5 separate regions of the Homo sapiens genome follow, and regions 1, 3, 4 and 5 are each linked to region 2. The links are contacts of gene promoters, found by promoter capture Hi-C in blood cells and fetal thymus (Javierre and others, 2016). All regions are on one chromosome and are shown on one strand. The core of a region is centred on a gene start or on the middle of the fragment in contact, and the rest is flanking DNA. Distances in the headings are between cores, read along the strand shown.

Region 1 (5,131 bases), core at 276-2,775, 620 kb before region 2:
GGTCACAACCAGGACCAGAACCAAGACTAGGGAGACGTGTCTGAGACTCACCCAGGGCACATCTCTAAGGAAGCACTCACATCCCTGAAAGAGAGAGGGCCTCCTTAAATGGTGCACCCTGGGCACCTTGCTTGTCTCAGCACAGTCTATGCTGTATGTGGGACTTTGTTCATCTCAGAACAATTGAGCTCACCTGGGTCACTCTCAAAGGGTAGAAATGATCTCCTTCATTTAGGGTACTGTACTATGAAAGAGAAAACTCCTATGATTATAAATATCTATTGGAAGAAAAAATGGTTAGAACTTAAGATATAAGCCTATTCTCCTAGCATTTGAGAGATAAACATGTTGTTTAGGCGACTTTGCTCACTTCAACAAGGAAAGATACTCACTTTAAGTGGATCTAAAACAGAAAGATGGGTTTTGAAATCATAATAGCTAAGGAGCAAACGTTCAGGCTTTGATGGGACCTTTGCTCTTGTTACTCTCAAATATGAACTTGAGAAAGTTATAAAATACTAAATTACTTTGCCCATATAGCCCCAAAATACATCTTTGTGGTTTTCATTGCATTTTGACCAATATTAAGTTAGTTTAGGAAAATATGAGTTCTGCCTACTCACACATGGGTCTCTTCTGGTGTATCTTTTGCTCATCCAAAATGAACTTCATGCCAACAGCACTTTGACATACCAGTGTAGCAAACTGCTATTATGCACCTACCCTAAGTACAGACAGAATTCTTCTCTATCGCTTATCAGCAATGACACCTAAAAGTTTACTGTCTCTCCGAGGGCAAACTTTCCACTTGATTCTGAGTTGGTGCTTCTGGTTTCTAGGTAAATAGCTCAACAATCCCAGTTAGGATGTACTGTGAGGTGTCAACCTCTCCAATTGTGAACTCATGCCAGCGCACGCTCTCTCTCTCTGTACTTCATCCTACCCTGTTTAGTGGGAGAAACAAGATCTGCTTTCTAAGCCACAAGATGGCAAGACCTCAGAGCTGAGTATCTCAACAAGGAAAAATAAGCAACAGCGTGTGGTTCTCTTACCTAAGCAGGCCAAAGCTTAGGCAGTCATAATGTGCAGAAGTGCCTGAAGAGATGCTATATTGATTATGAGATACGATTGTGAATTTTATTACCTTCCGGGAAAAAATAGGCAACATAAAAGCAAGAGTTTTGTGCCAGATGTAAGAATTAAACTCTACAGTTATCTGATTAGCATTAGAGACATGTGCTTTGAATGTGAAACACTTGTAAGTCTCCCCAGGTGAGCTCTCGATCTTATCTGTGCCATGTATGTAGATTTTTATATGCCTGCTCTTCTCAAATGGGACCCAGATGAAGTTCAATCATTTGCCTAGAAGAGTCTGAGAGGTTCGCTGGATTTTTTTTTTTTTTTAATTTTAGAAGCCAGCATGATTTTTTATAAGAGAAAGGCAAAGCTTTGGGACTTTGCTTGGAATTGAAGGGGCAGCCTGGGTCAGGGCACCAGGAGGTATGAGACTGAAAGAGAACTAAAGGGATCCATCCCAGTGCTGCCTCTTGGTATGCTACCATGGGACTGCCCTCCTTGTCTTTACAATGTCAGCTCTGGGGACAAAAGCTTCTTCTTGAGTCTACATATTACACCTGGTGGTGAGAGAATCTCCTAGTCACTGCCCTCACACATATCTTAAATGCATCCTCCAAAATGTTGCTTGATTCTGCAAAACCTATTTCTGGGCACTCTAAATATCCCCCATGCCTACTCCTCTTCTGTCTGGAGAGTTGCAAGAGAGATGCAAGTCAGAGTTAGGTCATGGTGTTCCTTCCAGCCTCTCCAACTTTAACAGCATCTACCATTTTGTTAAATGATGATCCCCCATGAACGTGAGGACAGAAAGAGACAGGTGCTCTCATGCATTTCTGGAAGGAATATAAACCGGTAATGTCTTTCAGTTGAGCAATTTGGCAATATATTTCAAAAGCTCTTAACGTGCACATAACTTTTTATTTAAGAGCTTTACTCCTAAGGAAATAATATGACAAAGCCCCCCAAAAATATATGTACAAGGATGTTCCCTGGAGCACTTTGGATGATGGAAAAAATTGAAAACCACCTAAATTTCCCAACTGTAGGAGCTAGTTGTCATGGCCCACCTACTACAATGGAAGAACAATAGCCATTAAAAAGGATGTTATTTATGAATTTGGAAAAATGCTCTGTATATATTTTTAAAGTGAGAAGGTAGGTTTCCAAAGAGTACATATAGTATAATCCAATGCTATAAATGTGTGTGTGCATGTGTATATAAGAGAGACACACACTGGGGTAAAATTGCACCAAAATATTGCTAGTGATTATTTCTAGGTGAACAATCATGAGTTTAAATTATTTTTCTTTTTTGGCTTCTCTGTCTCATGTAACTTCTCTACAGTAAATATATAACACTTGCGTCATAATTTTTCTAAGCTGCCTTGCATTCCTCTGGCACTGCCATCTCAAATCTTTTTTTTTTTTTTTTTTTTGAGACGGAGTCTCGCTCTGTCGCCCAGGCTGGAGTGCAGTGGCGGGATCTCGGCTCACTGCAAGCTCCGCCTCCCGGGTTCACGCCATTCTCCTGCCTCAGCCTCCCAAGTAGCTGGGACTACAGGCGCCCGCCACTACGCCCGGCTAATCTTTTTGTATTTTTAGTAGAGACGGGGTTTCACCGTTTTAGCCGGGATGGTCTCGATCTCCTGACCTCGTGATCCGCCCGCCTCGGCCTCCCAAAGTGCTGGGATTACAGGCGTGAGCCACCGCGCCCGGCCCATCTCAAATCTTTGAGGGATTTTTCATTCCTTTCATTGCACCTGTCCCTCTACAATCACAATATCTGGTGTGGTCAGCCTTCATCTGCAGGAAGAATAAAGCCTCGGGTTCCCACTCTACTTCCCACCATGCAAGGCTGGCAGAAAAGATGATGTCTGCACTCTCCAGTAGAGATTTCAGACACTCTCGTACCTCCTGCTAGCACTTTCGTGCCTGCACCAGATTCTCTTCCCAAGCTTTGCTCACCTGCTCTGGCAGGCATTCAAATTCCTTCCTCATGGCTCTCCCCAGGCCTTGGAAAGGAGAGTGGGTTTTTAAGATTCCTTACCATTCTCCTCCCTGAACATAAAGATTAAGAATGATTTATCTCTCCCCTCCCATTAAATATGCCATTCCTTCTCTCCAGTCATCTCCCCCTCTGCTTTCCCGGGTCAGCAAGGCTAAGGCAACTGCTCAGCACCATCCTTATCAGCAAGCTTAGCGCCCCCCTCTCCTCCCATGCCCTTGCTTAATCATTACTCTTCTTGGGTCTCCCAACACAACGTGTAAATCTTCTCATTGCCTCTCCCTGTTACCCTGGAATTCAAGCTCCTTCTCTTCCCAAATATGGCAGGCATAGGAGCTCCAGACTTCACACTTGGACAGCAGCAGAGAGACGAATCCCATCCCTGTTGTCACCTTGGCAGACACCACTCTTCACTGCCATCATTGTCAACAGTCTCGCTGCCAACTTTGGAAGGTGTCTTTGTATCTGGCCCTGTTGGGTTCATTACAAAGGGAATCCTCCTATGAACTTGTGTATACCCTTAGAAAGCACCTGTCTTCAAGGAGCTTAAAATCTCACTGGGGAGACATGACATAAAACTTAACATGCTCATCCAGTAGCAATCTGCCTCCCACCTCACCTGTCAACCAAAACTGGTCTTCTAAAGCTAAGAGTATCCTCTCTTGTTTACCAAATTCATCTCCTAACTTCACACTGTCTTGGCTACACACCTCTGTAGGTCTTTGCCCTACTGAGCATGATCTACATGAAACTCAGGAAAATTTAAAGGCTTTGACTCAGACAGACTTAGGTCTGTCTTAGCTCTGACTCTTTCTAGCCGTGTGACCTTGAGTAAGTTACTGTACCTCTCTGATCTTCATCTATAAAATGTTGACAATGTCTACTGTGCACTGATGACTTCAGAAGCAGAAGGAAACCCAGGTGGAGTCTACGAATAGGGCAAAGCCTATTTGTTGGTGATAGGTGCAGTTTCCTCCAACTTGGTCTGGAGGAGTTTTGTTCAGAAAAAATTCCAGATTATTTTTCCCCCGCAAGATACACCAAACTTGAAGTAATAATAATAATTAATCATTTTGATGTAGAGTCATTCTCATCTTAACCAGCAGAGAGGAACAAAGTCACGTGAGGAGTAAAATGAAAGAACTGTTGGGCGTTTTTGTGTTTGGTTTATCTTACCCCACTGAGCCAATTCCTCTATTTTCTCTTTAAACAGACACAGTGGAGGCAGTTAAATGAGCCTCAACCTGAATGCAGACAAGCAGGGAGTCAATTTTAGGTTGTGATGAATAAATTATGCAGAGGTTTTTGGCTTTAATTTTCTCCTCAGTTGACATGTTGTACTTTGAGCTGCCTACTGCCCGGGAGTCAGCGTTTAACTGGACGAAAATAGACAAAGCTAACCTGTGCAATCCTTGGCCACAGGCGGTTCTGTTGTTGACATCTACATTACCCCAAATTGCAGGACTTTGTTTTTGTTTTTCTCCTGTTGAGGGAAAGAGCAGCAGGAAGAGAATCCCTCCCTTGCAGGTCATCCTGAAAACAGCCATAAAGCTATCAACAAGAAAAGCAACCGGATGGGGCTGCTCCGCTCAATCTGGCTGATAAACACATCTAGATGGTTTTCTGACAGGTTAGGAGCTGACAGCTTGATAAATGGGAACGAGACACCTTGAATTTGTTGGTGACAGGTGCAGTTTCCATGAACTTGCTTTCTTCCCCTATAGCAGCCCCAGCTCCTGGAGAGCGGGAAGGGAACACTTGGCTCAGGTTCACTTTGGGGCTCTCAAAACTAACATTCTCATGGGGATGGAAGATTCATTAACAGCAAGCTTAGCTAATTTCTTCCTCATCATCCTTTAAGAAGCAAAGACAAGGCTGGGCGCAGTGGCTCCCGCCTGTAACGCCAGCACTTTGGGAGGCCGAGGCCGGTGGATCATGAGGTCAGGAGATCGAGACCATCTTGGCTAACACGGTGAAACCCCTTCTCTACTGAAAATACAAAAAATTAGCCGGGTGTGGTGGCAGGCGCCTGTAGTCCCAGCTATTCGG
Region 2 (5,785 bases), core at 2,810-5,309:
TAGCTTGGGTGACAGAGTAAGACACCATCTCAAAACAAACAAACAACAACAAAAAACCTTTATGTTGCAAACAACAGAAAACAGAAAACTCAAAGTGAAGCTGTGTGGTTTGAGCAAAAACTGAACAGTCCAGGGACAGCTCTAGCTTCATGAGAGGCTTGATGCAGGGCTCAAATGGCATGACCAGAACTCTTTGCTCCCTCTCTTCCAAGCAGATTTGTCTTTCATGAACCCAAGTTGTCAGCTGGAAGCTCTGGGTTATAAAGTTTAAGTACAGAGGGTGTATTAATCTGCTCAGGCAACTGTAACAAAATACCACAGATTGGGTGGCTTAAATAACAGACATTTTCTCACAGTTCTGGAGGCTGGGAGTCCAAGACTAAGGTTGGTTTCTGGTGAAGTCTCTCTCCCTGGGTTGCAGACAGCCTCCTTCTCGCTGTGCGCACTTGGGAGTAGTGGGGAAAAGAGAGGGAGAGATAAAGAGGAAGGGGATCTATCTCTGATGTCTCTTCCTCTTCTTATAAGGACAGTAGCCCTATCAATTAAGGCCTCACCCTTGTGACCTCATTTAACCTAAAGGGCCCTGTCTCCAAATACAGTCACATTGGGAATTAGGGTTTCAACATATGAATATGGGGTGGGGGGCAATGGAGGTGAGGACACAATTCAGACTATAACAGAGGCAGTTAACAAAATCCATTTTTCCAGCTGTCCCAGTGAAAAATCTCTTTGGCTTAGATTCCATCACATGCACATCTTTGAATCAATTACTGTAACCAGGGTGACGGGATATCCTAGAGATGAAAGGTAGCATCAGTTTTAAAGAATTCATATGGCTGAAAATTGAGAAAATAGAAATTATACAAAAGAATAATCAGAATTCTCTTGGTGGGAATAGGAGGAAGGAATTCATGCTAGGATGTTAGCTGTTAAATGTCTACTATATTGGGATGGTGCACTCTTTCTCTGAGAGAAGATTCCCCCTATTTAAAGAAAAAATAGTATAGCTATTAGGCTCATTCAGAGTTCAAGCTGATGCTATACATTGTTGATACAGGAGAGATCGCAGACTGGGTTTCATTATCATTATTACTATTAAACAGTCAAACCCACCTGCCTGGTACAATGATTCATTCTGATATCTAATTATCACAGTGGAAGTTGTGACAATTCAATTTCCTGATCTCTTCTCATATGGCTCCTGTTTTTCTTGTTGGATCCTTATTCTCCTCCTGTGCCATGGATTAGGACAATCCCAAAAGTCCTGCACACACCCCTCCGTTCTCTCTCAAAGCTTTTTTTCTTCATCTCGGCCATCCCCCAAGTTTCAGTGACCACAACCTTGAGTGTAACTTTCGTAACTTCATATTCCAGCCCATCCTATAAATCACAGCACTCTACAGCTTAATCTCATTCTTATTTGCAGACTCTGTGTCTCAGAGTCCTGAGCTTGTTTTTGCTTGATCCCAGCGATGACTAGCTTGCAGCTCTACTTAATAACATGAAGGAACAAGAAAGTCTAAGTCATCCTCTAAGTAAGGATTTACTGTTTATTGTTTGGTAAATGTCTCTTCCACTAAACTCTAAGTTCGTTTAATACAGAGACTATTCATTTGTAATGCCCAAAACAAATGATCATTCAATAAGTTCCTGTCAAAATATATGCAGCTTTCAATATAACGTAACAGTCTAATCCTCTCGTTTCGTCTAGAACAGTCACAATGAAGAAATGATGACAAGTTCACTACAGGAGTCTATCCCAGTTCTGAACAGCTATAATATTAGGAATTGTAACTGAGGGCCACAGAGTTGGGAGGTGGGTGTTGTTTCCCAGAATCTGAACTCCCATCCTATGCTTGGTGAATCCACTACTGTGTGAGGAGGCCAAGTCCCATCTCTCCTTACGTAAATGGAAAATAACAGATACAAGGTTGCTGTTTTTTGCTTTTTCCTGACCTTTGGTATTTAGGCCATGGTATGCGGACCTTGCCTGAGTACGGAGATCTGCATCTGGTATTGTGAATCAGAAGTTCCATTAAGTTATCTTAAAAGTAGAACCCATCTAGAATTCATTTCACTTGTGACATCTAGCGTCCAGTGGTGGTATTGGCAGTCCTGTATTCAGGCCATCCCTAAAGAATGACCTTTATTATGACATGGGGTAACCTCTAAGACTTTCCTAATGCTGTCCCCTCCCCTAGAATGCACCCCTCCTTAGCTCTGCCATCCTTCAAGGCCCTGCTTGAAGTGTCACATGCACTGGGAAGTTTTAAAGGAACATTTAGACAAAATATACCTCTCCCTTCACACAACTCCTTTAGTGTGGGGCACATACCACTTGCATAGCATTTACAGCCCTGTAAGTTCTATTTGTTTTTTAAAATCTCCTACTATATTGCGAGCATCTTCTAGGCAATAGTCGAGTTTACCACATCTCTGAATTCCTCCACTATGCCTAACACATTGCAGTCACTCAATTAATAGTTTAAAATACATATTTTTAAAATAGAATAGGAAGAAACATTAATAACATAGGGTATACCTTCTCTTGTAACAAAGGAGAAAAAATAAGTTCAGATCGATTTTAGATTACCTAATTGCAGCCAGTCATGATTGGCCTAAGCTAGAACAATCTTTTCCTGGCCCCTGAGTTAAGGAATCTTTGTTCAGTGATAGGGAAAATGGTATTTGTTTCATTTCTCCAAGAACATAGGTGTGATTACAAATGAATGAGCATCTGGTTCATTGGAGTCCCAGATAAATCTGTGAGACAACACTGTGAGCAATTTGTTGCCAATCTTAAAGCTCAGATCAACCCTTTGAGTCTGGCTTAGCTCAGGCAGAAATTGTAGTCTGCAAAAGAAACTGAGAAGAAGAGGGCAAGGAGAGTGTGGCATCCCAAGACATAAAGACTCAAATCAATGAGAGCAAGCAACTCTGTCAAATTTCACCAGAAGTGAGGACTAAATATTGACTACCGAATTTTGCAAGGTAGGAATCACTGGTAAACCTAACAAGAGCCACTTCATAGTATTGGTTGGGACCAAATCCTGGTTAAAGTGGGAAAAACAAACAAAAGAACAAAAGGTAAGAAAATGGAGATAATGGATGTAAAGATTTTTTTTCCCCAGAAATTTTGTTATAAAGAGAAGAAAACAAATGGGGTGGTTGCCGATTGGTGTCAAGGAGGATTTTTTAAAAAATGAAATCATGAAATGATTTTATGGCAATCACTGCAGCATGTTTATGAACTGATAGGGAAGATCCAATAGAGAAGAAAAAACTGAAGATGCAAAAAAGAGCAGTTAGAGCCAAGTTCTCAAATAGGCAAGAAAAGATGGGCTCGAAAGAACGACATGATTCATGTAACAGTTACTAGGACTCATCAGTGCTCATTAAATGTTATCTATTATTATTTCTGATCGCTTCAATTTTTGAATAGGCATCAGGGTTACAAAATATTATTATTAAAAACACATGCAAACAGCTTGGACTCTAAGACTGCATTCAATTCTAGTTCTACCACTTGGACAAGGCACTTTTTTTCTTCGGGCTTTTTCTCTGTAGAAAACGAGGAGTAATATCTGCCTCATAAGGCTGCGGGCTTAACTGAGATAATCTGTAAACTTTAACACATGGTGGGAACTTAAATATTAACGCCAGTATTACCACTGGTAGGGTGCATGAGATCGCACGATGGTGCCAAAGGTGTCTCTCCACCGCCCAGCCCAGCGACACTGTTCCCCTAGAAGGCATTGTCGTAAAAACAAAAAAAAAAAAAAAACGAACAAACAAAACACCAAAACACGGAAACTAAAAGCAAATACTTAAAAGACATGCAGGAAACCAGCCCAAGGAAAAATTTATGTGGAGCCACGTCTGCGCCTGCGCCTGCGCCAAGCCCACGGCGCGCCACTTGCACATGCGCAGTAGCTGTAGGAGGGGGTGGGCGCTCCATTGGGCGTTTCTCTTGGTTTTTCCTTTCCGCGCGGCTTGGGCGGACGTCTCGTGAGACGTGGGACTTCTCGCGGGAACTGCATTCAAATATCCCAGGCGCTTACTCGAGAGCTAGCTGAGCGAATGGGCCGGCGACTGTGGAGTTAGCGTCCTCAATGTGGACGCCCTGAGCTCCCATTAGGAGCCGCTGGCTGCGGCAGCAGGGGACTAGCGTGAGAGGTAGGGGCAAGGGGCCTGGTGGGAGGTGGGTGTGGAGAGCGGCAGTGGGGAGAGTCGAACAGGCCCTAAAGAAAGCTAGGGGCCGGGGTCTCGGCCGAGGCCTTTAGCTGAAACATCTCCTTCCCCGGAACCCTGGGGTCTTATACACTGGGTTCCGAGCCGGTCTTATCTTCCGCTGGACCACCTCGCCGCCCTCAGGGATTCTGGACAAATATGGAACGTTGGGTCGGTTGCCGGGTCCTCAAAATTATAACCGCCACTGGATCTGCGCTGTGCGGTACGGTAGCCTCTAGCCCGAACTAAGAAATGGTGCAGATGGGAGATACATATTGGGTTTCAGAGATAGCGCATAAGGAGTAATATCTCATTAATAATTTTTATAATGATTACATGTTGAAATGATGTTTTGAGTGTATTTGTTTAAATATGTAAATTAATTTTTCATCTTTGTTTACTTTTTAAATCATGATGGCTCCTAGAACATTTAAAATCACGTACATGACTCGCGTTATATTTCTGCTGGACAGCACTGCCCCAGCCGTGTGTCAGATTCTACCCTAATTGCTTTTCATTCGTTATCTCATTTAATCCTTTCAGTAACCGATTAGGTGGGTGTTATTGTGCTTGTTTTTATAGATGATTAAACCAGAAATTAAATAACTTGTCCAAGTTCATGCAGCCAGTGAGTAGTGGAGGCGGGGTAAGAACTCAGGCAGTTTGATTCCCAGAGTTTCCTGTGTCCCAAATGCTTTGTGTGTGCTATATTTTTGAGAAGCAGGACAGGAAAAATGGTTGCAGCACCATGGTTTCTAGGTAGATTCTAGTTCCCATCACACTTCGCGTCTTAACTTGCGGGTAACCCTAAGCAAGTTACTTAAAACTTTCTATGCCTCAGCTTGCATGTGTAAAATGAGGGAAATACCTTCAACCTCTTGAAGTTGTTGAGAAGATTGAATAAGAATGTGTATAAAGCGGCCGGGTGCGGTGGCTCACGCCTGTAATCCCAGCTACTCGGGAGGCTGAGGCAGGAGAATGGCGTGAACCCGGGAAGCGGAGCTTGCAGTGAGCCGAGATTGCGCCACTGCAGTCCGCAGTCTGGCCTGGGCGACAGAGCGAGACTCCGTCTCAAAAAAAAAAAAAAGAATGTGTATAAAGCACCAAGCACAATGTCTGTCACACATTAGTAGTTTTTAATCAACCACGGCTATCTCTCTTTGTAGATTGATAGGTTAACTCTTTCTCATCCATTAGACCTCTGCTGAAAAGTTACTTCCTCAGGAAAATTTTTTTGTCCATGTTCCCTTCTACGCGCTGCCCCCCAGATTAGGACAGCTCCCCCTTGTTACAGGCTCAGGTAGCATACATCTGTCTCTCTTGCACTTATCATACTTGTAACTTGATAGTTCAATTACTTGATTTAATGTCTTTTACTAATAGACTAGGATTCAAGAAGACAGGAATATTGTTTTAGGTTGCCATTGTGTTGTCAACACTAGCACAATGTCTCACACAATAAGAATTCCAGCAAATTTTTTGAATAAACTAAAGCAAATTTTTTTTGGCTTCTCTGGATATGCCTGGCTGGAATGTCTTGAGGTTAACCCTATTT
Region 3 (5,911 bases), core at 3,106-5,605, 930 kb before region 2:
GACACATGGGGATTGTGGGAACTACAATTCAAGATGAGATTTGGGTGGGGATACAGCCAAACCATATCGCTGCAGGGGAAGAAAAAGAAGAACCCCCAAGAAAATGGACAGTGAAGGATTTGTAGCACAAGCTTTTTCAGACCTTAGCAAGTTCCTTTAAAAGCTTGGAAGTGTGGAGGCAACACCAAACAGTCTTCTTTATCATAATTTTTATTTTAGGTTCAGAGGTACATGTGCAGGTTTGTTATATAGGTAAACTGTCATGGGGACTAAAAAATTTTCATTAATAGAGAGGAATGGTGCGTAATCTGCTTACAAGCAAATCTGTGAGAAAAAATGAAGCAAATCTACTAAGTGACCATAGACATATTTCTGAAAAGAGTGACACCTCCACAAGAAGAGCCTCAGGCAGGTTTCTTAGGTGTTATTCCAGAAGAAGGCATTTGTTGTCATGGGAGATGACAGCTGTGTGTGTTATTGCCACTGAAGACCTTCCAGTGGGACAAGATATGGGGGTGGAAGACAGTGACATTGATCCTGACCCTGTATAGGCCTAGGCTAATGTGTTTGTGTCTTAGTTTTTAATAAAAAAGTTTAAAAAGTAAAAAAAAATAAAAATAGATAAAAGCTTATAAGGTTTATAAATATTTTTGTACAGCTGTTATTATTTTGTATTAATTTGTATTTTGTATTATTTATATTTGTATTAATTTTACTTATGAAATAACTTTAGTTACAAAGTAATTATTACAAAACTTATTTTAAGCACAAACACATTATTTTGTAACAAGAGTTAAAAAGTTAAAAAGTTTAAAAGGAAAAAAGTTAGAGTAAGCTAAGTTTAATTTATTATTGAAGAAAAAATATTTAAAAAATAAATTTAGTACAGCCTAAGAGTATAATGTTGATAAAGTCTACAGTAGTGTACAGTAATGTCCTAGGCCTTCACATTCACTCACCACTCACTGACTCACCTAGAGCAACTTCCAGTCCTGCAAGCTCCATTCACGGTAAGTTCCCTATATAGGTGTATCATTTTTTTAATCTTGTATATCATATTTTTACTGTAACTTTTCTAAGTTTAGATATTTCTAGCTACATAAATAATTGTCATTGTGTTATAATTCCCTACAACATTCAGTACAGCAACATGCTGTATAGGTTTGTAATCTAAGAGTGATAAGTTATACCATATAGCCTAGGTATGTAGTAGGCTATACCATATAGGTTTGTGTAAGTATGCTCGATGATATTCATACATAAAATTGCTTAATGATTCATTTCTCATAACGTTCCTCTGTTGTTATGTGACACATGATTGTATTGTCATATTTTCCTGGCTGTTTGTATGTTGCATTTTTAAAGTTTTTTCTAATTTTTTTCAAGGTCTTTGCTATCTCCAATATCTGACTCATCTTTGGGTCTGCTTCTGTTGACTATTCTCTTGACTGTCATATTTTTCTGGCTGTTTGTATGCTATATTATGCCATTCTTGCATTTCTATAAAGAAATATCTGAGACTGGGTAATTTATAAAGAAAAGAGATTTAATTGGCTCATGGTTCTGCAGGCTGTACAATCATGGTGCCAGCATCTGCTTGGCTTCTGGTAGGGTGGGGCTCAGGAATCTTAACAATTGTGGCAGAAAGTGAAGGGGGAACAGGTGTCTCATACTGCAAGAGTGGGAGCAAGAGAGAGTGCGGGGGAGGTGCCACACATTCTTAACAAGATCTCTCAAAAACTTACTCACTATTGTGAGGACAGCACGAAGCCATGAGGGATCCACCCCCATGACTCAAACACCTCCCACCAGGCCCCAACTCCAACACTGGGGATTACATTTCAACATGTGATTTGGATGGGACAAATATTGAAACCATATCATATGCCAAGTAATTAAAAAGAAATTGAGCCAAGGGCTCACTATATTGTCCAGGCTGGTCTTGAACTCCTGGGCTCAAACAATCCTCCTGCCTTAGGTTCCCCAGTAGCTGGGATTACAGACATGTGCCATTGTGTCTGGCTTATACTATATGTTTATTCTATGTAACACACTCTAGAGTCTCTGGAGTTTACTATCTTTCTTTGAAAGGCATTGAGTTTTGCCCTAGCAGATGGCTAAATCGTTGACAGACAATCTTAGTCCTGTGGAAGCTTAGTTTTAGCCTTTATTGGAGTGGATCTCTTTCAGTTTTGTCCTTATTCCTAGGGTATAGACCTAAATTCTAAGATGTGGTCCTTATTCCTAAGGTGTGGCCCTGCAAGTGTTTCAACAAAAAGGGCGCTGTGTCTACAAAGCTTCTCTACCTTGGCAGGGCTTGACTCTTTCGTCTTGATGCAGTTTCTTGCCTCTGGGAAACTTACAATCTCACCCTGCATATGAACTGTTTAGCAGTCAGCCAAGGATTTGAAGATAATTGGTACACAGATTTTAGGGCACCCCTTCCATGGTTCCGTCACTTAGGATTAAGATTTTTCTCCCTAAATTTCCAGCCACTCCATTCCCCATGCAGTGTATAGATGGGGACACACCTTCAGGGGAAGAGCCAGTGAACGCAGCTCTCACTCAATGTGCTGTCTTTCATTCAAGGGTTGGATCCCCTCCCTTTCTGCCTTCTTTTGGTTGCTGCAGAGTGCTTTAACGCAATTGTTTTGTTAAACTATTTTGTCCAGATTAGATAATTGTTACATGTGGGAGGGCTAGTTTGATAAGCTATTCTGATATTACCAGATCCTGAACCTCTTGCTCAATTTTCACCCTAGAATCTCAACACCACTGAATGTGAGAGGAACCAATGATAAGAGCCCTAAGCAAAACTCACCAGGGTTAATCGGAAAGAGGTAGAATGATATAATGGTTAAGGATGGGGCTTTGGAGGCAATTTTGGTTTTGAATCCCAGTCCTGCCACTTATCAGCTGTGTGATCTTAAGAATGATGCTTAACTGATTGAGACCTTGTATTGCCATTTGCCATTTTCTTTTTCTTTTCTTTTCTTTCTTTCTTTTTTCTTTTTTTTTTTTTGATGAGGATTAAATGAAATGCTTAGCACCAGACTTGGCAAATAGTAAGGGTTTTTAACCCACGATGGTCACTATTATGACTAGAGAATGATATGTTCTTTCACAGTGGGGCTAGAAGGAGAGGGACACAGGGCTAAAGGATTTTTCCAGACAGTAGATTGGTGCCTTCTATTGGGACTAGAAGTCTTTGCCTCCAACTCTAGACATTCACAGTTGTTTGGAAATAAGCAAAATTCTAAATCTCAGAATTTTCTTCTGTTCCAGTTAAGACTTATCAAGGGCTGGAGCGTCTGAACTAGATACACCAAAAATTTTTAGAGTGATGAGATGATGGAGTTAAACAAACTGTCCTGAACTGCATATCCAAAGACAAAAGCTAGGAGATAACAAAAACTGTCCTAAAACTGCATATCCAAAGACAAACTGTCCTGAACTGCATATCCAAAGACAAACTGTCCTGAACTGCATATCCAAAGACAAAAGCTAGCGTACCCCCAAACCCTACTTCAATGTAGACTCCCTCCCTCCCTGAGACCTCTGACCAAACCCAAATATATCTTGATTTTTTTTTTTTCAGACAGGGTCTCACTCTGTTGCCCAGGCTAGAGTATAGTGGTGAGATCACAGCTCACTGCAACCTCGACCTCCCCAGGCTTAGGTGATCCTCCCACCTCAGCCTCCCCAGTAGCTGGGACCACAGGCATGCACCACCATGCCTGGCTAATTTTTGTATTTTTTTGTGGAGATGAGGTTTTGCCATATTGCCCAGGCTGGTTTCCAACTCCTGGGCTCAAGCAATCCACCTGCCTTGGCCTCCTAAAGTGTTGAGATTACAGGTGTTGAGCCTCTGTGCCTGGCCTGGATTTTTTTTAAGGAGGTAAAATTCACATAGTAATTCACCATTTTTACAAGTATAAAGTGTGTAACTCAGTAACTTCCAGGACATTCATGATGTACAACTATCACTACTAGTTCCAGAACAGTTTCATCATCCCCAAAAATAAATGCCAGACCCATTAGTCACCCCCATTTCTACTTCCTCCTAGTCCCTGGCAACCACCAGTGTGCTTTGTGTCTCAATGGATTTGCCTACTGTGGACATATCATATAAATGGATATGTGGCTTTTTGTGTTTGGTTTCCTTCACTTAGCATGTTTTCAAGGTTTGTTCATTGCCTGGAATTATTCAGATATTCATTTTTATATAAACCCCTGTGTCTTTTTGACTTTCCAAGTGCACTTCGTCCCAGCAGGGCTTTCCTATCCGGACCCCAGAGCTTTGGTGAAATGTGTGCACACAGAGCAGGCAGGGGCACATTGACAAACTTCTGCTTGACAGTTTCTGTTTTTGCACCCTGTTAACAATGCTCTTGAGGCTCCACTATGTAGGATTATCTGTTTTTATACCTGAAAGTCTCCTTACCTCAACTGCTATCAAAAGATTTACATCTTTCTAAGGTGCCAATTAAATCCAACAAGGTAGCTGAGTGTGGTGGTGCACGCCTGTAGTCCTAGCTATGCAGGAGGCTGAGGTGGGAGGATCACTTGAGCCTGGGAGGTCGAGGCTGCTGTGAGCTGTGATTGCACCGCTGCATTCCAGCCTGGGAGACAGAGCAAGATCCTGACACACACACACACACACACACACACACACACACACACACACACATTCCAACAAGGTAATGTGTAGGAGGAAGTACCCGAGCTTTTCAGTCAAATGTATATTTGAATTCCACTTCAGAGACTCATACAGGTTTGGAAAATTGGAGAGAGGAGGAGAACTGTGCCTGCTTTGCAGGTGGAACCTGGGAAAGGGGCACATACACGAATCTCTTCCTGTGCCACAAGATGGCACAAAAGAAGTAGGGGTGAAATAGCTGCTCCATCCCGGGTCTGAGTCAGCCTTGAAGGGTTCCCAATACCCTGGGTAACGTGGGAGCAGTAGAATGATTTTTCTGTGCGTCTAAGAGTAGCAAACAAGTGGGTGAACAACCTCAGCTCTACCTCATTTCTTTCTTTTCTTTTTTTTTTTTTGAGATGGAGTTTTGCTCTTGTTGCCCAGGCTGGAGTGCAAGGGCGTGATCTTGGCTCACTGCAACCTCTGCCTCCCAGGTTCAAGTGATTCTCCTGCTTCAGCCTCCTGAGTAGCTAGAATACAGGTGCCCACCACCACGCCCAGCTCATTTTTGTATTTTTGATAGAGACAGGGTTTCACCATGTTGGCCAGGCTGGTCTCCAGCTCCTGACCTCAGGTGATCCACCCACCTCGGCCTCCCAAAGTGCTGGGATTACAGGTGTGAGGCACCGTGCCTGGCCTCCACCTCATTTCTTGTAGTGCCAGTATGGCATAGCAGCCTCCAGGTGTCCCCAGACTTCCAGGGGGAGCAGAGTCATGACATATAGACTCTGCAGACCTGGAAAAGATTTGCTGCAGAGTTAAAGCAAACGTAGTCTAGATGTCCAGGCCATCGTGGCAGCTGGCATGAATACATGAAGACAGCAAGGAGCAAACATCTTCACAGGATGTGAGGCACCTGGAACTCAAGGGGTATCCTGGAGAAGAGAAATGCCAGACACTGAACTGAATGAGATAATTAAGTTTTTGCTATGAAGCAGGATGGGGGCTCAAAGTAGGAATTAAGTTTAATTTAGAAAAGGCAATGTATATTTTTAGTATTTTTGAGTAAGAAGGCTGAGAAGCCTAAATTTAAAAAAAATAAATTTTTTCCCCCACTGTAATTCACGACACTTGAGTTCATTTTCTGCTCCTGAAATAGGGAGGGCACCTCCCTCTGAAAACATTGTCAGAGAAAAGAGTCCAGGATTGAGCAGATGCTTTGAAGAGGCAGAACATTCTTAGCTTTAGGGGGCCCACCAGCTGGCCCAGGGC
Region 4 (5,180 bases), core at 2,576-5,075, 580 kb before region 2:
TGTATTTGAAGAATGAAATACTTTGTCATGGCTTAAAACACATGAAACACATCCGTTTCATCCCTTCCTTGTTTCTTTTCAGCTATAGAAAGGACAACCAGCACCACCTCCAAAATGCCTCCAAAGGGTCTGCCTTGTATGCAAGGTTGTAGGTATTTTAGTTAAACATCCAATTAAGGTTACTCTTCTAGTTATAATGTTTTGATGCCACCCCATGTACTAGTAAACTTTGAAGGTTAGAACTAAGAAATGGGCCAGGCGCGGTGGCTCAGGCCTATAATCCCAGCATTTTGGGAGGCTGAGGCGGGCAGATCAGAAGGTCAGGAGTTCGAGACCAGCCTGGCCAATATGGTGAAACCCCGTCTCTACTAAAAATACAAAAATTAGCTGGGAGTGGTGGCGCATACCTGTAATCCCAGCTACTCAGGAGGCCGAGGCAGGAGAATCGCTTGAACCCGAGAGGCAGAGGTTGCAGTGAGCCGAGATCGCACCATTGCACTCCAGCCTGGGCGACAGAGCAAGACTCCATTTCAAAACAAAACAAAACAAAACAAAACAAAACAAAACAAAAGGCCATTGAACAGGGTGAAAAGATGTGTCCTCAAAGTGTGGTCCCCAGACCAGCAGCATCACTGTCACCTAGGAATGTGTTAGAAATATGAATTCTTGGGCCCTACCCCAGTCCCACTGAATCAGAAATTCTGGGAGGGGACCCAGAAATCTGTGTGTGTGTGTGTGTGTGTGTGTGTGTGTGTGTTTTGAGACAGGATCTCGCTCTTTTGCCCAGGCTGGAGTGCAGTGGAGTGATCATGGTTCACTGCAGCCTCAACCTCCCAGACTCAAGTGATTATCCCACCTCAGCCTCCCAAGTAGCTGGGATTACAGGTGTGCACCAGCATGCCCAGCTATTTTTAAATTTGTTTTTTTAGAGACAGAGTCTCACTACATTGCCCAGGCTGGTGTCGAATTCCTGGGCTCAAGGTATCTTCCTGCCTCTACCACCCAAAGCGCTGGGATTACAGGTGAGTCACCCTTTAGGAGGTAATGAATGAACTTCCAAGTATGAGAGCCTCTGGTAATGGGTTCAAGACCTCTGGCTCTGGAGTGGGATACAGTCAGGTTTCAATCCCAGATCTGCAGGCATGGATCTGCAGCAGTTCATCTTGTGCTGCTGGCTTTACCTCTCTTAATTTGGTTTTCTGATTGGATAAACAGTAATAATTACCCCCATCCCATAAGGTTGTTGGATCAAATAAAACAGCACAGCTACATAGAGCCTTGTGTGGGTATTTTGGGGTGCTGAGTGATAACTAATCATATCCCCATCCCCTTCCAATTCCAGACCCATGTGAAGCAGGCAGATGGAGACCAGAACATGGGCTCCATTGCTGATGAACTCCTCTGAAGGACTCAGGGATCTGGTCCCCACTCACATTGGCTTCCTAGTGCTGCCTCCCACAAACTTTGGACAGTGTCCCTATAGGGTGAGAGGGTGAAGGTCTGCAGAGGAGGCACACAGCCCAAGTCCCTGCCTCACACTGTCAAAGCCGAGGAATGTGGACAGAGGATATGCAGCCACGGGACTCACAAAGGCAGCCCTGGCTTCACCATGGAGGGCCGGCCCTGGGGCTGCAGGTACAGAGTGGACGCCCACCTGGGAGCTTTTGCACGGGAAGACCCATGCAAAAGTGGACCTGCTGGACTGCTCAGTCATTCCTCTTGAGCTCGATGGCCTTGTGGCTCATGGCTTGGAGTAGGGAGATGACCCAAAGACCCTTCATGATTTTTTCCACTTGGGGTCTGGGTATCCCCATCCTTCTTAGGAAATAGCAGAAGTAAAGTAATGCCTATCACTTGCTAAAATCAGTGCTCAACAAATACTGCGATCATTATTGACGACAAAAAATCAGTGCTCAACAAATGCTGCGATCATTATTAAGAAGTTATGGCCGGGTGCGGTGGCTGTAATCCCAGCACTTTGGGAGGCTGAGGCAGGCGCATCATGAGATCAAGAGATCTAAACCATTCTGGCCAACATGGTGAAACCTCGTTTCTACTAAAAATACAAAAATTAGCTGGGCATGGTGGTGTGTGCCTGCAGTCCCAGCTACTCGAAAGGCTGAGGCAGGAGAATCGCTTGAACCTGGGAGGCAGAGGTTGCAGTGAGCTGAGATCACACCACTGCACTCCAGCCTGGGTGACAAAAGCAAAACTCCATCTCAAAAAAAAAAAAAAAAAAAAAAAAAGATTTGTAAAGGATATTAACGTAATCTTTTCTGAAATGGAAAGTTCAGTTGCATCAACGCTTAAGCCTACAATGAAGAATTACTCAAAGAGAAGAACAATAAAAAACTCACAGAAAGTGTTCAATAACCTAAAAACAATAATCTTATGTAAAACAAAAATTTTACATAAGAACTCATAACAAAAACTTAAGGGTGTTAGAAGTCAGAGCATGACGTTAATAATATGATACAGAGTTGAACGTGATAGATCTGGTCAGTATCAAACTCACTGAAGAATGGTCAGAAATTACCTTCACACAAACAGCAACAGAAAGAAAGATACACGGCTGACAGTTATTAGAGCTCTGAGCATACAGTAAGCATCTGATAAATACTGATGGGCTGGCTATTCAATTACAACTGACCCGACAACCTATTCTTGAAGCATTATTTAATTTATACTAGATGTTCTTTTTTGGGGTTTTCAGTTCTAAAATCTCTCTCAAATAACTTTTCCTGCCAAGCGGTTATTTGAGTTGCGTCGGAAAGCTTTCTTAGTGAATTCTGCACTGAATGGCTCCCCTGGAAGAAGTTTATTACTTTGTCATCTTATTTGTTAGGAAAGTTGTGATATGACAGAGGGACATAAATAATCCCATTCAATGGGAAAAAGATGCTTTCTGCAAATCCATAGTACTTTTCACATTTCAAACCACTTTCACATTTATCCAAGTGCTTTGCTATTTTTATAAATGAGCATCTGATGAGGATGAAATGAAAAAAAATTCTCAGCCAACCCTTTCAGCCCTTTCTGAGGAAACTTCTCACTTCCAGCTCATCGCCACTGTCCGTATTTTGAACCTGTCTTGTCTGCCTTATCCTGAGAAAAATGAAAAGTTCTCAAACCACCCCCACATATTAATTTGCCATCAACTTTTCCTACTAAGTACTTAAAATTCACTTTCTGCTTGAAATGAAGGGAGAGGCACCTATCTTTTGAGTTCGGCTTGAACAATAAAAATATTTAGAATAAAAAAACACCAAATAATGACAAGAAGTACAGGCACATAGGCGGGTCACGTCTTTTTTTTCCCTCCTTAAGTGTTACAATGGAACATTTTGACTTGTTATGAGAGTGGGAATGAGAAAGTGAAATAGACTAGAAACAGACCAATTTCATTTTTCTGTCAGCATCTCATGACAGGCCAAAGATAAACCTCATAAACTGTGAAAAATGAACAATTCTTGGTTTTGATAACCTAAGCTGGGATGAGAACCAAGGAATTAATATCTCTGGAACCCAGGAGTTTATCTCCCTTGTTTTTCAGTGATTAATCTCAAACTAATCCCATTTTTGTCAACAATTTAAACAAGCCAAAAGAAAAGTTTTAGACTCCTGGCTATAGCTCCTCTCTTAGCCTACCCTTCCTGGTGCCAAGTGAAGTGGTAATTAACCAAAGTCTCCCTCCTTTTTTTTTCCCCTTGACATACAGAATTGCAGGGCAGCAGTACTCCAGAGAAGGGAGACATTGGTGGGAACTGCAAACGGTAGGTTTTTAGAGTAGGGAGAGGAGGGGACTCAAAAGAGGAATAGGGAGCATGGGGGTATGAAGGTAATTATAGGAAAAAGCAATGTGGCTGGTGTGGTGGTTCACTCCTGTAATCACAGCACTTTGAGAGGCCGAGGCAGGCAGATCACCTGAGGTCAGGAGTTCGGGAACAGCCTGGTGAACATGGTGAAACCCCATTTCTACTAAAAATAAAAATAAATTAAAAATTAATCAGGCATGGTGGTGTGTGCTTGTACTTCCGGCTACTAGGGAGGCTAAGGCAGAAGAATCACTTGAACTGGGAGGTGGAGGTTGCAGTGAGCCAGGATGCACTCCACTGCACTCCAGCCTGAGCAACAGAACGAGACTCTGTCTCAAAAAAAAAAAAAAAAAAAAAAAAAAAAAAAAAGAAAAAAAGAAAAAGCAATGGGGCATCAATGAGTACAGATGGGGCAGATGGGGAGATTTGGAGCAGACAATGAAAAGAATGGTCTGGGAAGTGAAGAGTTTCAGAACTAGGAAATAGTGGAGATGACATCAGGTGGGAGGATGGACTTGCAAACCCAGTTAGAGAGTGTGGACAGAATGTGATGGCCACAGGGAGCCATTGTGTAGTCTAGAGCAGGAAAGTCACGTGGAGTGAGTGAGTATGGGAATGGCAATGGTGTGCAGGCAACCAGTGGAAGAGACTAGAAACAGGGGCTCTAATGTAGAAACATCTCAGTATTTGGGACAAGAGGGGATGAGGACTACATTTTTCCGTGTTTTTCTTCCTTGATCAAAGTATTTCCCTAACTTTAGCAGTCTCTTCTCACTATTAGCTAATTTTGCCATAGAGGCACAAAACTTGTACTACTGTTTACTTGTTTTACCTTATCCATTAATGACTCTTATTTAAACATCTGTTTTATCCTCACCTTGATCTGCAATGTCTGTGAAATTACAAACTTGGTATATTAGTTACATATAGGTTTTAACTGTATGAAAACAAGTATATGCCTAGTAAAAGAAGAAGTTTGTCTGAATCTTACTTAAAATCATCTCAAACTACCAGTGGGGCACTTATTCTTTGGGGGAAGGCTGCCTTCGCTCACAGGTTCTTAAGCTTACTGGGGTCATAGATTCCTTTGTTTACCTACTAAATCCATTAGAAAGGATTTGCAAATGGCACTCATGATATTACCAGTATGTATCTACATATGTATGCAGTAAAATCTAGTCCTTTTTTCCTAGAATACTCAGTGTGTCTGAGCACGCACAAACAAACTTTGCATATCATTTCAAGTTGTCACTATTCCTTGGATTAAAACTCTTTTGACCCATCTGAGGCTTGCAGAATATGGGCCCTAGCTTCTGGGCAGACCAGGGCACTCAGTACATCTTCCCAAAGCTCATGTGGCCTTGA
Region 5 (5,260 bases), core at 1,108-3,607, 890 kb before region 2:
AGGGAAGCTATTCTCACTCTCAGACTAAGCAGTGGAGGTCGGGAGGCAAATGTATTGACCTTCTTTTTCTTTTAAAATGCTACAGCCCTCTCAATACCAGCAAGTCTCAAACTTTAATGAGCATACAAAACACCCAGGGATCTTGTTAAAATGTGTCTTCTGATTCAGGGAGTCTGGGTGGGGCCTGGGAACTAGCATTCCTAACAAACGCCCATGTGATGCTGATGCTGCTGGTTCAAGAACCTCTGGTAGCAAGGACCTATATAGTACTTCTCCATCAACTAAAGAGAGGCAGCTGGTGCTGTAACCTGCATTCTCCATTGTTCTCAAATGCTTGCCTTTTTCTTCTAGTTAAATTTTATGCATTTTAATATGTGTTGGGTCTATTGATTCTGCACAAGGGAGAGTAACCGCATGCTGTCCTTGGTTCCAGGACATCTGGAGTCTCTGGATTTAGCTGAGAAATCAGTCAGGCCCAGACTGATTCACAGCCCCACCCCTTTATATGTGTGCATGGAGGTGGCTTATGCCACCTCAGTGAGCCTCATAAAATGTGAATGAGTTTCTACGTTCTAAGATTGTTGGATGTTGGATAATACACCTTGCCTGACAAAGAATAAGTTAGCAGTACATGCTAGTCATTGTGATCTTTCTTTTGGCTATTGTATTATGGACAGGTAGTATCTGCCCTTCATTGAGACCTCATTGAGGGAGAGGGAACGTACAAGGAGAACTCCAAGGATAAACATCTTCACACTTGGACAAACGTCACCCTGACTGTGTATCTCTTTGGCTAATATCCCTACAGGCTGCCATAGGATATGAGCTGTTTGGTGATGGGAGATGAAGGAGATAAAATGATAAAATGTTGCACTGGAAGAATAATTTTTGATTTAAACACATTTTAATGAAACACTAACATTGAGCTGGCCTGTAGACCTTTTCAAGATAATGACATCACATATAAATACAATATCTCAAGATTATGAAAGCTAGACTGATTTTATTCTTTCCTATATTGTCTTAGAACTCAAGGAACTTTAGTTACAATAGAGGTTTCTAGGAATAAGTTCTGGGGATCATAAAAACCTGGCAGTGTTAGCTCTCCAGCACTCCAACCAACCCCACACCTGCACCCTTGACCACGTTTTTGTTTTCTTTCTTTTTTTTTTTTTTTTTAGACAGAGTCTCCCTCTGTCACCCAGGCTGGAATGCAGTGGTGCAATCTCAGCTCACTGCAACCTCCGCCTCCTGGGTTCAAGCGATTCTCCTGCCTCAGCCTCCTGAGTAGCTGGGATTGCAGGAGTGTGCCCACACCTGGCTAATTTTTGTATTTTCAGTAGAGACGGGGTTTCACCATGTTGGCCAGGGTGGCCCCTAGACCACTTCTGACCAGTGCTGGTGTAAGCCTGTGTCCTCTGAGCTTGCTGTCCACTCAGCCAAGAGGCAATTTATCTCCTCTCCATGGGCAGATCCCCATTCCCTGCCCCTTCCCGGGCATGCCCAGAGCACTCTGCTTGCCTGGCCTGCTCTGCTTTGAGTTCACGTTTGCATTTACATGTCTCTTCCCACCCCTTGCCCCTTCATTCTTCCCTGTCCCCTCACAGTATCCCATACTTCGTAAAGATCAGCAGTGAACTGAAGTCAAATCAGGGGGGTGGAAGTAGGCGGGGAGGTCCTGTGAGGTATCTCTCACCCTTGTACTCAGGTAACTTGACTGCCTAAAAGTCCCACCTGGCATATCTGAGGGGGCATGGGGCAGATGAGGTAGATAGGAATGGGGTAGACACATGGAAGGGCTGAAGCTTCATTTGGTCTCATTGAGCAACCAGAGCCTCTTGGCATTTCCCCTGGTGATGAGATCTAGGCTTGTGATGTGAAAATAGAAAAGGAAGACACGATAAAAGACATGCTCATGTCTGCTTGTCACCCTTACTTACTTGCTTCTTCTTCCCCCAGTGGAGCCGTCCTTCCTTCTCTCAACCCATCCAAATTCCACCCACCCTCAAGGGTCACCCACATTCTATTCCTAAAGGGGTGGGGCTGCTTCTCTCCTCCAGCAGCCTTTTCCTTCCTCAGAACCCCAGCAACAGAGCCAGAATCGTGGGGCCTAGAACTTCTTTCTTTTCTAAATATTTGCTCAGTGTCAAATCTTCTTCCCCTAGGTCCATGGCAAGGGCCTTGAGGAGATGAATCAAAACCATCTTCCAATCCCCACTATACTCCACACAATCAAGATCTGTGGACTGATGGGTGGGCTGGCTGGAGCAACAACTAGAACTCCTGCTTCTTAGATTCTAAGATTCTAAGAGCTTACAAGTTCAAGTTTCAGAGATTCTATGATTCTAAATTTCTAAGATTCTGTGATTGGGCTTTCTGAGATCTTGGGGTTCCCTGAAGTCCTAAGTCTTGTTGTTTAGAATCATAGTCACAAATACCCCCAGAGTCTAACTCTCTGCCCTGTGACTGAGAACAGGACAGATTCTGGGTGATGACAGCTTCTGGACCCATCAAGACCTAGAGCATGAGCTTCTGGCCCCAGAGGCTGGAGATGCCACTGGTGGGCATTCTCCTTAAAGACTCATCAGCACAGGCATGGAGCTCTGGGCCCAGGGCCCTCATCTCTAGGGGAGGCTCTGTAAGGTCATTTATGGGGTCTGCTAACATCCTGGGGTCTCTCCAGTTGCCCCGGACTGCCTGTTTCCCAAAACCCTGACTCCTTGGTGCTAGTGGCTTTCCTCTGGTGTTGGACAGAGATTGCTGGGAGAAGAAGGAGGCAGCTGGGTGTAGAAGGCAGCACTGGGGTTGGGAAGAATGTTTTTGGCCACAGAGTTCTGGGATCTCCCTCTCGATGTCAGAAAACCCCCAGTCTCAAGGGTCTCACAATCTTCTCTAGAAGAGGCAGTGGCAAAAGCTTTCATGAAGGAAGGTGAAAGGAAGAGATGAGTACAGGGCCTGGGAGGGATTTCCCAGGAGTGCCATTGGATCCTCAGCCTCAAGAGCTGCATGGCTTTCTGACCTGAGGCAGCCTCTCCATCCACCCTTAGGGCTGCTCACGTGCTCCCCTGGCTCCTATGGGCTCTGCTGCTCACCATGGAGACAGCTCCGCCAATGGCCATGCTGCTGGACCACAGTGCTCCTGCCCCCTTCCCCTGCAACAGGTGCATAAGCTGAAAAACTTGCTGTAGACTGGAGGGGCAGCGTACTGCAAAGGCTGCACATGGAGAAGGTGACCAAATACCCTTTAGACGCTGCTTCCCCAGTGGAATTGCTCTACTTCTTTAGCTCTAGAAAGGAGGGATATGCTGAGAGTACTGGGAAGTTGGTAGGAGAGGAGAGGCAAGGAAGAAGGGGCAGGGAAGAGAAAGAGTGGATCTTTCTCTCTCTCTGTCTCTTTCTCTCTCCCTACCTACCTGTCTATCTACAGAGACTTAGAGACACCCACAGACAGACAGAGGCACGCATAGGGAAACAGACTGAGATAATTAGATCATGGCTGAATCAGAGATGCAGAGAAGCACATGAGAGAGAGAGAGAGCATGCAGAGAGACCAGAGACTGCCTAAAACCTAGACTGTTAGAGGCAGAGTTTTCATGGACTCTGTGCTGGGGGCACGAAGCCAGGTCTTACCTGAATCCTTTGTCCAGGGGGATGCACTTGGCCTCATGCTGACAGAGGTTCAGCTCAGGCACACAGTGGTCAATCACCTCGTCGCATAGCTCACCTGGCACAGATGGGGGAGATAGCTCAGGCCTCAGGCAGGGTAGGGATGCCCTGGCCAGAAGATCAGAGTACTAGGGGGGATATCCTGGCCAGAAGATCAGACTCATCCAGCCCCTGGTCAGGTGGGCATGGACGTCAGGAGTCCTGTGTTCTCACTCCTTGTGTATCCTCCTGCACCTCTGCCTTGGTTTCTTTGGCAGTGACCACGGGAAGATTCCAGGTGTCCTCCTGGACACTGTCCTAGCATCACCATTTGGCTGTTTTACTTGATCTTTCAGGGGCAGGGGCAGGTGCAGCTGAGAGCACAGGATGCCTGGCCCTCACTTTGGGCCATGCTTATTCATTTGTTTTTTCATTCCACACTTATTTACTGAGCACCTCCTGTGTGGCAGGTACTGTGCCAGGCACTGGGGACACAACAGTGACTGGGTCCTTTCCTACCCACAGCCTATTTGGGAAGATCTACAAATAAGCAGGCAATTACAATACAGACTTGTAGGTGTGACCAGAAGGGCAAACTTTGTGGAAGCACAAGGGGGACCCATAACCTCCCCCAGGAGGTCAGAGGAGGCTTCAGAGACACAGACAAGGCTTAGCAGCCCAGTTCACCTGTTACAGAAAAGTAAGCCCCTTGGATTTTTCAGGGAAGGAAGTATGAAAGGAATTTGAAGTTCTGGTCTCTAGACACATTGCCTTTGAAGTCTGCAGTGCTACAAAATACCTAACGGTCATAAACACCCAGGGATGGCCCTTGCAGATAAGCCCTGAAAAGCTTACACCACCTGAAAATGTGTTTTAGGAATGTGGGGGAGGGCGGTAAGGCAGGACAGCAGCTCCCAAGCAACACCAGCTTTTAAGATCCGAGTTTTGGGTTTCCTCAAATTCCACTAGGTCAAGCCAGATGGAGAGTGATCTAAGAGAGGGAAAGGTCTAACCATGAACGTTCTCTCCAGGAATGGGGTGGGAGCAGGGCGGGGAAAGCTGCCTTAGCTCCTGCTCCCAGGGTATAGGCAGGTAGGTCCAGAGGGCTGGCTGCAGGGTAATGAGTAACAGATAGCCCCTAAGTCTGTTCTTTGCTATGGTGGGGAGAGGCTGACCCCAACCATGTCCTGGGAGGGAGCACTGAACCCCTCCCTCTCCAAATTTTGCCTTCAGCCTCTCAAGACCACAGAAGGCACTATGTTCCTGAGAAGCCTCCTCTTTCTTGTCATCTGGAGACACCCAGAGAAGCAGACAAGTATCTGTGTGGGACTTGCACATTTTCTGGGACAGAGCAAACCACAAAGCCTCATTCTGTACCTGAGTTTCCCGGGAATGAATTCTAGTTGACACTTCCTAGCTGCTTGACCTTGACTTTGGCAGTTGTGGAGATTAAATGAGATTATACAAGCACTCACTCTCAGGACCAAAGTGCAACAAATCAGCAGTGCACCCTGGTCAACGGCAGACACCAGGTAGGCCTCAACTGCGGCAGGAAACCACTTCATCAATGCCTCCTCAGTACCCTCCTGCTGCCCATCTGCCTGCTCTAAATTCA

The links. Contacts are between HindIII fragments. The CHiCAGO score rates a contact against its expected background, and 5 or more counts as called.
Region 1: a contact is called between a fragment that was not itself captured here and the fragment with the promoter of SPDL1 in region 2, in 2 of 17 cell types (M0 macrophages and endothelial precursors). The highest score is 7.3, in M0 macrophages.
Region 3: a fragment that was not itself captured here is called in contact with the fragment with the promoter of SPDL1 in region 2 in 2 of 17 cell types (M0 macrophages and M2 macrophages); the score reaches 6.0 in M0 macrophages.
Region 4: a fragment that was not itself captured here is called in contact with the fragment with the promoter of SPDL1 in region 2 in 4 of 17 cell types (erythroblasts, megakaryocytes, endothelial precursors and 1 more); the score reaches 6.0 in erythroblasts.
Region 5: a fragment that was not itself captured here is called in contact with the fragment with the promoter of SPDL1 in region 2 in 5 of 17 cell types (M2 macrophages, M0 macrophages, naive CD4 T cells and 2 more); the score reaches 8.2 in M2 macrophages.

Annotation. Positions count from the first base shown.
Region 1 is chr5:168,964,945-168,970,075 of GRCh38, forward strand. The region is part of intron 4 of SLIT3 (slit guidance ligand 3); the gene reads right to left. Among named protein-coding and RNA genes, the nearest start is that of SLIT3-AS1, 46 kb to the right of the region's middle. The HindIII fragment of the contact is 161 bases long and covers 1,446-1,606 here.
Region 2 is chr5:169,579,714-169,585,498 of GRCh38, forward strand. It overlaps SPDL1 (spindle apparatus coiled-coil protein 1), which reads left to right and starts at 4,060. Exons shown (of 12, transcript NM_017785.5): 1 at 4,060-4,176. It overlaps LOC105377714 (a long non-coding RNA gene), which reads right to left and starts at 3,948. Exons shown (of 3, transcript XR_941200.3): 1 at 3,670-3,948. RefSeq lists an enhancer at 3,687-4,687. The HindIII fragment of the contact is 7,098 bases long and covers 1,293-5,785 here.
Region 3 is chr5:168,647,802-168,653,712 of GRCh38, forward strand. No RefSeq gene overlaps it. Among named protein-coding and RNA genes, the nearest start is that of SLIT3-AS2, 56 kb to the right of the region's middle. The HindIII fragment of the contact is 4,120 bases long and covers 2,296-5,911 here.
Region 4 is chr5:168,998,172-169,003,351 of GRCh38, forward strand. All of the region lies in intron 4 of SLIT3 (slit guidance ligand 3), which reads right to left. Among named protein-coding and RNA genes, the nearest start is that of SLIT3-AS1, 12 kb to the right of the region's middle. The HindIII fragment of the contact is 2,106 bases long and covers 2,773-4,878 here.
Region 5 is chr5:168,688,977-168,694,236 of GRCh38, forward strand. It overlaps SLIT3 (slit guidance ligand 3), which reads right to left. Exons shown (of 36, transcript NM_003062.4): 29 at 3,631-3,724. Among named protein-coding and RNA genes, the nearest start is that of SLIT3-AS2, 15 kb to the right of the region's middle. The HindIII fragment of the contact is 1,109 bases long and covers 1,804-2,912 here.